2 separate regions of the Homo sapiens genome follow, and region 1 is linked to region 2. Evidence: promoter capture Hi-C in human tissues and cell types (Jung and others, 2019). All regions are on one chromosome and are shown on one strand. The core of a region is centred on a gene start or on the middle of the fragment in contact, and the rest is flanking DNA. Distances in the headings are between cores, read along the strand shown. Region 1 has its middle 7.8 kb from the start of MLLT1. Region 2 holds the start of CAPS (calcyphosine).

Region 1 (4,337 bases), core at 353-2,852, 370 kb after region 2:
AAAAAAAAAGAATAATGAGGAAGGAACTGAATGTCTACTGACACATGAGCGGATAAACTAAACATGGTTTATCCATGCAATAGAAGCTTATTCAACCTTAGAAAGGAAGAAAATAGGGTGTAGTGGTGTGCACCTGTAGTCCCAGCTACTTAGAAGGCTGAGACAGGAGGATTGCTTGAGCGCAGGAGTTTGAGGCTGCAGTGGGCTATGATTGCACTGATGGCAGTGGCTGGCCATCTGGACTGGCCACCACCATCTTACTAGCTGCAGCACAGAGGAATGGCCAGGACTGCATGTTCCATAGATCTGGCAGAAGCTGGTGACAAGTGGGAGCCCCGCCCCTTCTGCATTGGGGTGGGAGCTCCCTGGGTGGTGCTGCAGCCACTAAAGCCATGGCTACAGACCTGGGCATTACTGGGCTCTCAGGCCCAGAGGCAGGCAGGAGCCCCACCCTCCCAGGTGCAGCTGCAGCTGTCCAAACTGCAGCTGCAGATTAGGAGTCCCTGCACTCCTAGGGGCCCGGGAAGGTTCCCCCTGCCCTTGCAGGCTCAGAAATGTCTGCTTCCACTGCTTGGCTTCTCCCTGCTGTTGGTGCCCACTCCATCTCAAAGCAAAGTTGGGGCTGAGCCCCAGAGCTGTTGCAGCCAGGCAGGGTGTGCACAAACTTGGGGCAGCACAGACACACCAGCCCCCTGCTACCTCAGCCCCATCTGGACTTCGGGCACCAACGAGCATAGGAGGGAAGCCAAAGGGGGGGCTGAGGGCAGCTCAGTGCTGACCTGCATGCGCCCCTTGGCACCTATAGCCTGGGCACCATCAACAGCAGCAGGAGGTAGACAGGTTCCTGGATGGAAGGGGATGGGTCCCTGGTGAGGCCCCACCTTCAGGCCAGGGAGGGCCTGAAGGCTAGGGGCTGGGCTACCAGCCCCATGGACTGGAGTGGAAACATGTGATGCCTTTTCCAGGCCTGCTCATGGACCAATCAGCATGCATTTTTTCCCCTCTGAGGCCCATAAAAGCCCTGGGCTCAGCCAAAGCTGGGCAGATATCGGGATGACCAGCTTCAGAGAGCAGCTACCAACTCCAGGGCCTCCTCTCTGCTGAGAGCTGCAGAGACGTCGGGACTACCAGCTGCAGAGAGGAGCAACTCACTCTAAGGCCTCTTCTTTGCTAAGAGCTGGGATGAACATGGGATGACCTGCCTGCAGAGAGAAGCAACTCACCCCAGGGCCTCCTTCTGCTGAGAGCTGCAGGGAATGATGGCACAACCTGCTTGCAGAGAGGAGCTACCCACTCCAGGGCCTCCCCTCTGCTGAAAGCTGGGCAAGCAATGGGACAACCTGCCCGCAGAGAGAAGCTACCCACTCCAGGGCCTCCTCTTCACTGAGAGCCACAGAAAATGACAGGATGGACTGCCTGCAGAGAGGAGCTACCCAATCCAAGGCCTCCTCTGAGCTACTCTGTCGCTCAATAAAGCTCCTGTTCACCTTGCTCACCCTCCACTTGTCCACATACCTCATTCTTCTTGGGCACAGGACAAGAATTCAGGAACTGCTAAACAGCAGGGCTGAAAGAGCTATAAAACCCACAGGGCTGAAACATGCGCCTTGCCATGTTGTGGGTGAAGAGAAGGAGAGAAGAGCTGTGGCCCTTCAGGGACCTAGGAGCTCCCTGAGCCAGGGCTGTGACTCCCTCTTTGGACCCCAGTGTTTCCTATAGTCTCCAAGCTTCTGAGTGCCACTGCATTCCCTGGTGGCAGCTGTGGAAGCTGCTTATGGTGCACCTGGTCTGGCCGCAGCCTCTCAGAGAGCCAGGGCCCCTGCCAGCACCTGGAGCTGTCTGCTCTGCTGCAGCAGCTGGTGTGCCTGGCTGCATGCAGTGGCCGGACCTCATGCTTGCTTGCTTGCTCACACACCCCTCGCCCCTCCATGCCTGGCTTGCCCTTGGCAAGTGTGAGATCCAGGCTAGTAGTGTGAGCTGAGCACAGCCTGCCAGGCCGTGTGGGTGGAATGAGCCCAGTGGGCCCGAGCAAAACTCAGGCAAAGGTGCCACCAGCCACAGAGGTTTCCAACCAGAAATCAACACCCCAAGGATCCTGCAACATTTTTGAGGGCTCGTCCAGGATCTGCAGAAGGGTGAGTGAAAGGGTGAGTAAAAGCAGATCTGCTCTTTCTGTCCCTTTTTAGGAGTCCCTAAACTCAACAATAGCTAAAATGAAAGAAAAACACCAGGCCTCTATTAGCCAGTTAAAATTAACTAGCAGAGATGCTGGACTTAAAACATGGATGATAGCCTTGCTGGGGAGGACACTGTCAATCCCTCATCATCCTCAAGTGTTGAGAATGTTGGGTTTGTTTCAATCCCGTTTCCTTCCATGAGGTCTACCTGTTACATGGGACCAGAAGGAGGTCCTGGGGCAACTGAGGGTATCTGGCTGAGGCTATGCCTCAGTGTTATCCAAAGGCCCCTGGACTAACTCCTGAAACTCAAGTCCCTAAGCGCCCATTAGGGTGTTGTTGGCACTAGGACCTCCAGTCTCCTATCTTTCTTTCTTTCATGGTTGTCAAGGTTCTTATCTCTTCTTTTTTTTTTTTTTTTTTGAGATGGAGTCTTGCTCTGTCGCCCAGGCTGGAGTGCAGTGGCATGGCATGATCTTGACTCCTGACCTTAGGTGATCCACCCACCTTGACCTCCCAAAGTGTTGAGATTACAGGCATGAGCCACTGCACCCAGCTCCTATCTCTTCTTTATATACAACATTAAATTTCTGTGCGCACGCGTGTGTGTGTGTGTGTGTGTGTGTGTGTGTTTGAGACAGAGCCTTGCTCTGTCGCCCAGGCTGGAGTGCAGTGGTGTGATCTTATCTCACTGCAACATCTGCCTCCAAAGTAGTTGGGATTTCAGGCATGCACCACCATGCCTGGCTAATTTTTGTATTTTAATAGAGATGGGGTTTCACCATGTTGGGCAGGCTTGTCTTGAACACCTGACCTCAGGTCATCCACCTGCCTCGCCCTCCCAAAGGGCTGGGATTACAGGTATGAGCCACCGCATCCAGCCTACAATGTTAAATGTTAAGAATGTTGCTGCAAAACAGAGAAATTACTGGATAGAATGAGCATTTGGCTTAGTCATCAAAAGTATAAAATGGAAGGTTAAGAGTAGCACAGATGAGCAAAGTGTGCCTTGGTATCTGTACATAATTTTGTGGGAAAAATGTTATTGTCATTTCCTTGGTTGCCATCTTGGTGCAAGGCACCTTGAGGCACAGAACAGAAGCATGGCCTCAGGAAGGAAGCTTTTCTGTAAACACAAGGGCAAATAAATGGTCCAAGGTCCCATACATGCAGGCCTTCTTTGCCTTGCAGGGTAATCTGGACCTTTGCCAACATTGTAGGATTGATTCAGCTGTCCTAATGGCCTTCTCAGGAGAAGCTGCAAGGGGTAATCCCAGAGAAATAGGGAAGCATACCCCAGAGGTACCTCCAGCAGGGGAATCAATCCCCTCAACTCCTCCCTATCCAGGTTCTCTCTCAAGCTTGCCCCGGCATAGTAATCCTTGTTTAAGGCAGGTCCCAGTCTCAACTGCCCAAAAACAGATGCCTGGTGAATATGGTCCCATTGAAGTTCAGTTTTCCTTTTCTCTATAGAACTTAAGGCAAATTTAAGGGGAGATCTTGGCAAGTTTTCAGATGGCCCTCACAGGTATATAGAGAGTTTCCAGAACTTAACCCAAGTATTTGAGCTCTCCTGGAAAGATGTCATGTTACTCTTGTTTTTGTTTTTGTTTGAGATGGGGTCTCACTCTGTCATCCAGGCTGGAGTGCAGTGGCACTCTCTTGGCTCACTGCAACCTCCACCTCCCAGGTTCAAGTGATTCTCCTGCCGCAGCCTCCCAAGTAGCTGGGACTACAGGCATGCACCACCACACTGGCTAATTTTTATATTTTTAGTAGACATGGGGTTTTACCATATTGGCCAGGCTGGTCTCAAACTCTTGACCTCAAGTGATCTGCCCACCTTGGTATCCCAAAGTGCTGGAATTACAGCCATGAGCTGCACCCGGCTTCATGTTACTTTTGAATCAAACCCTGACCACCACTGAAAAGCAGGCCACCCTGAAAGTGGCACAGAATTTTGGGGATGAGCTTTATATCTTATATAGGGCCAGGGAAGGGGATGAGACTTATCTGATTGGAAGAATAGCAGTACCACTGAAGAACCCTAAATGGGACCTCAATGATGAGACAAAAGAATGGGGCCAGGCGTGGTGGCTCACACCTGTAATCCCAGAACTTTGGGAGGCTGAGATGGGCGGATCATGAAGTCAGGAGATC
Region 2 (4,314 bases), core at 1,334-3,833:
TTTTTTTTTTTTTTTTTTTTGAGACGGAGTCTGGCTCTGCCACCCTGCCACCCAGGCTGAAGTACAGTGGTGTGATCTAGGCTCACTGCAACCTCTGCCTCCAGGGTTCAAGTGATTCTCCTGCCTTGGCCTCCTGAGTAGCTGGGATTACAGGCATGCACCACCATGCCCAGCTATTTATTTTTTTTAGTAGAGATGGGGTTTCAAAATGTTGGCCAGGCTGGTCTTGAACTCCTGACCTCAAGTGATCCGCCCACCTCAGCCTCCCAAAGTGCTGGGATTACAGCTGTGAGCCACCGCGCCCAGCCCTGGCCTCTTTTTTTAAGTTATTTATTTATTTTTGAGACAGAGTCTCACTCTGTCGCCCAGGCTGTGGTGCAGTGGCATGGTCTTGGTTCACTGCAACCTCTGCCTCCTGGGTTCAAGTGATTCTCCTGCCTCAGCCTCTGGAGTAGGTGGGATTACAGGCACCCGCCACCATACCTGGCTAATTTTCTTTTTTTTTTTTTGAGACAAAGTCTTGCTCTTGTCCCCCAGTCTGGAGTGCAATGGCACGATCTCGGCTCACTGCAACCTCCGCTTCCCAGGTTCATGCAATTCTCCTGCCTCAGCCTCCCGAGTAGCTGGGATTACAGGCACATACCACCACGCCCAGCTAGTTTTTCGTATTTTAAGTAGAGACAGGGTTTCACCATGTTGGCCAGGCTGGTCTCAAACTCCTGACCTCAGGTGATCTGTCTGCCTCGGCCTCCCAAAGTGCTGTGATTACAGGCATGAGCCACCGCACCCGGCTGACTAATTTTTGTATTTATAGTAGAGACAGGGTTTCACCATGTTGGCCAGGCTGGTCTCGAACTGCTGACCTCATGATCTGCCCGCCTCGGCCTCCCAAAGTGCTGGGATTACAGGCGTGAGCCACCGTGCCCGGCCAGTTTATTTACTTATTTTTAAGAGGCGGGCGTCTTGCTCTGTAACCCAGGCTGGAGTGCAGTGGTGCGATCATAGCTCACTGCAGCCTCCAACTCCCGGGCTCAAGTGATCCTCCTGCCTCAGCCTTCCAAGTAGGTGGGATTACAGGAACACACCACCATGCCTGGCTAATTTTTTGTAGTTTTTGTAGAGATGGGGGGGTCTCACTATGTTGCACAGGCGGGTCTCAAACTCCTGGGCTCAAGTGATCTTCCTGCCCTGGCTTCCCAAAGTGTTGGGATTACAGGCATGAGCCACCGCGCTCAGGCAAGGCAACTTCTGACAATATAATTGTGCTGTGAGCGAGGTAAAGCCAGGCTTGGAGAAGGCTCCGATTGATGATCCTTGGGTCGGGGCGAACAGTGGGTCCTCAAACAGGGCCCACGTTTCAAGTCCTGGAAAACCCACCTATCTTAGCGGGCAGGTATATCCGATGTCTCCGTTGAAGGCCTTCAGTGAGGTGGCTTCGTCTCTTGAGGTTTATGTCCAGGATCAGGGCTGCTCTTCCACTCGGGGTCACAACCTCTGGCTCACCACCTTGTCAGGAGCCAGCCCACTAAGTCACGTTTCAGGCCTGAAAACCAACAACAAAAGATCCGTAAAGACAGAAATCCTGGGACTGGCTCCTAACAACGGCCAGTGACAAGCTTTGTGGCAGTGAGCAGAGGTGTCCCTCAGGCTCAGCTCAGTCTCTGTGGGTTGCAGGACCTGCCCTTGGAGGTGGGCCTGGGTGGGAGGTCTTAGGGCCCCAGGACCTGGGCCACCTGGGGCTTTTTTTTTTTTTTTCTTTTTGAGATGGAGTCTTGCTCTGTCGCCCAGACTGGAGTGCAGTGGTGCAATCTTGGCTCACTGCAAGCTCCACCTCCTGGGTTCAAGCGATTCTCCTGCCTCAGCTTCCTAAGTAGCTCGGATTACAGGCGCCCACCATCATGCACGGCTAATTTTTGTATTTTTAGTAGAGGCGGGGTTTCACCATGTTGGTCAGGCTGGTCTCAAACTCCTCACCTTGTGATCTGCCCACCTCGGCCTCCCAAAGTGCTGGGATTACAGGCATGAGCCACCGCGCCCAGCCCACCTGGGGCATTTTTGTTGCTGTACAATAGAAACAAGTTCTCTATATGTTCCCCAGGCTGGTCCAAACTCCTGGGCTCAAGTGATCCTCCCACCTAGACCTCCCAAAGTGCTGGGATTTCAGGCATGAGCCGCAGTGGCCGGTCAGAACCTGGGGCCCTTTTGAACTTTGATTCCTCAGCAATTTTGTCAGCCCTGGCTCGGGCTGAGAAGCCCCTGTGAAGCCAGAGAGGGAAAGGGACCTGTCCAGGGTCACACAGGAATCATGCGTCAAGCCTCCCCAGCCACGGACTTGTCTCCATCCAGGGCATTTCAGCCCCTGCAGGGCAGTGGCCTGCCCCTCCTCCTTGGAGCCAGGAAGGGATGCAGTGCCACAGGGATCTGGCTCTGTCCCAGGCCCTGTGGGGCTGGCAGTTGAGTAAGCAGTCAGGCTGGGCGCACCCATCCCTCCCCCACTCCCCACTGCCCAGCACAGTGCATTCATGCAGCTGGGCCCCACCCCATCTCCAGAGGCACCTTCCACTAGCAACAGTCTCCCCAGGCACAACACAGCTAACACAAGGCCCCGCAGGCAGGACTCTGGGACAGACGCAGGCCAGGTGAGCATCTGAACAAGGGGCAGTCGGCCAGGGTGGGCTTGCGGGAGTCCCCACCTTGACCTCTCTCCCTTCCAGCTGCCCAGAGCCCAGACCAAGCATGGACGCCGTGGATGCCACCATGGAGAAACTCCGGGCACAGTGCCTGTCCCGCGGGGCCTCGGGCATCCAGGGCCTGGCCAGGTGAGCTGTCCCCTCTCACCTTCCTGACCCCGGCCCCTGAGACCACTGTTCCAACCGTGTCCCCTGCCTCCAGGTTTTTCCGCCAACTAGACCGGGACGGGAGCAGATCCCTGGACGCTGATGAGTTCCGGCAGGGTCTGGCCAAACTCGGGCTGGTGCTGGACCAGGCGGAGGCAGAGGGTGTGTGCAGGAAGTGGGACCGCAATGGCAGCGGGACGCTGGATCTGGAGGAGTTCCTTCGGGCGCTGCGGGTGAGCCCCCACCTCACAGTCAAGGCGTGTGCCCTGGGCATGGGGCGACAGAGGATGCTGAGATGCGGAGACGGGGACTCCTCCCTAAGAGCTGCTGTTAAGAGGCGCCTGCTGGGGCATACAGCCCCAGTGCTCTGCACAGCGTCTTGGGGGTTTGGGTGTGCTACCCACCACCCCCAGTCACCACCTCCTGTCCCAGCCCCCCATGTCCCAGGCCCGGGAGGCTGTCATCGCAGCTGCATTTGCCAAGCTGGACCGCAGTGGGGACGGCGTCGTGACGGTGGACGACCTCCGCGGGGTGTACAGTGGCCGTGCCCACCCCAAGGTGCGCAGTGGGGAGTGGACCGAGGACGAGGTGCTGCGCCGCTTCCTGGACAACTTCGACTCCTCTGAGAAGGACGGGCAGGTGGGTGGCTGCGCGGGGGGCCCCCTCCCCAGGCAGTTCCTCGGCCGTGCCCCCTCACGGCCCTCTGTTCCCAGGTCACACTGGCGGAATTCCAGGACTACTACAGCGGCGTGAGTGCCTCCATGAACACGGATGAGGAGTTCGTGGCCATGATGACCAGTGCCTGGCAGCTGTGAGCAGCTCCGGCTCAGCCCTGCTGCCCTGGCCTGTCACTCCCCACCCCTGCCGGAGACCTCCCTTCCCTGGGCCCCTTCTCTCCTGGGCAGCCACACCACAGAGCGGGGAGGGGCAGGTGGGGGAATGGAGGCTGCAGGACTGGCTAGACCAGGTCCCTGCCGGTCCACCAGGCGGAGGTGGGACAAAGGTCCTAACAGGAGTCACTGGCTCAGGACCCCAGGGAGAAACGCTCTCCCCACCCACGCCATGCTGACCAGAGATCTTGCAGCCCCTGTGGATGCCCCCGCCGAGGTCCCCCGATCCCCGCACCCGGACTGCTGCTCCCTGCCCCTCCCTTGCGGGTCCCCCAGGAAGCCAGGTGACCCCAGGTGGGAGGCTGTGTGTGGAGGCCATCCTGGAAGGAAGTTTAGACCTGCCCAGGTGTGGAGCGAGGGGCACAGGGGCATCCTAACCTCAGAAACTGAAATAAAGCCTTTGAAAAAAAAATCTGTAAAACATCAACCCCCAATCAGAAGATGGCAAATGGGGAATAAAAATAGCAGGTAACATGTCCAGCGGGCCCAGTATCTACATTCTGGTGAGCGGCCCGAGGCTGGGAGCTCTGGGCGGGGGCAGACCGGCGGGGCCTTGCAGCAGGGGTGGGGGTAAAGTGCGGGTGGTG

What was found. Contacts are between HindIII fragments. The study calls those that stand out against the background at their distance.
Region 1: a fragment that was not itself captured here is called in contact with the fragment with the promoter of CAPS in region 2 in 1 of the 25 tissues and cell types used here (pancreas).

The regions. Positions count from the first base shown.
Region 1 is chr19:6,285,588-6,289,924 of GRCh38, forward strand. No RefSeq gene overlaps it. Among named protein-coding and RNA genes, the nearest start is that of MLLT1, 7.8 kb to the left of the region's middle. The HindIII fragment of the contact is 3,632 bases long and covers 1-3,418 here.
Region 2 is chr19:5,911,671-5,915,984 of GRCh38, forward strand. It overlaps CAPS (calcyphosine), which reads left to right and starts at 2,584. Exons shown (of 5, transcript NM_004058.5): 1 at 2,584-2,639; 2 at 2,715-2,819; 3 at 2,893-3,070; 4 at 3,270-3,476; 5 at 3,551-4,314. The coding sequence starts at 2,737. The coding sequence ends at 3,652. The HindIII fragment of the contact is 10,666 bases long and covers 1-4,314 here.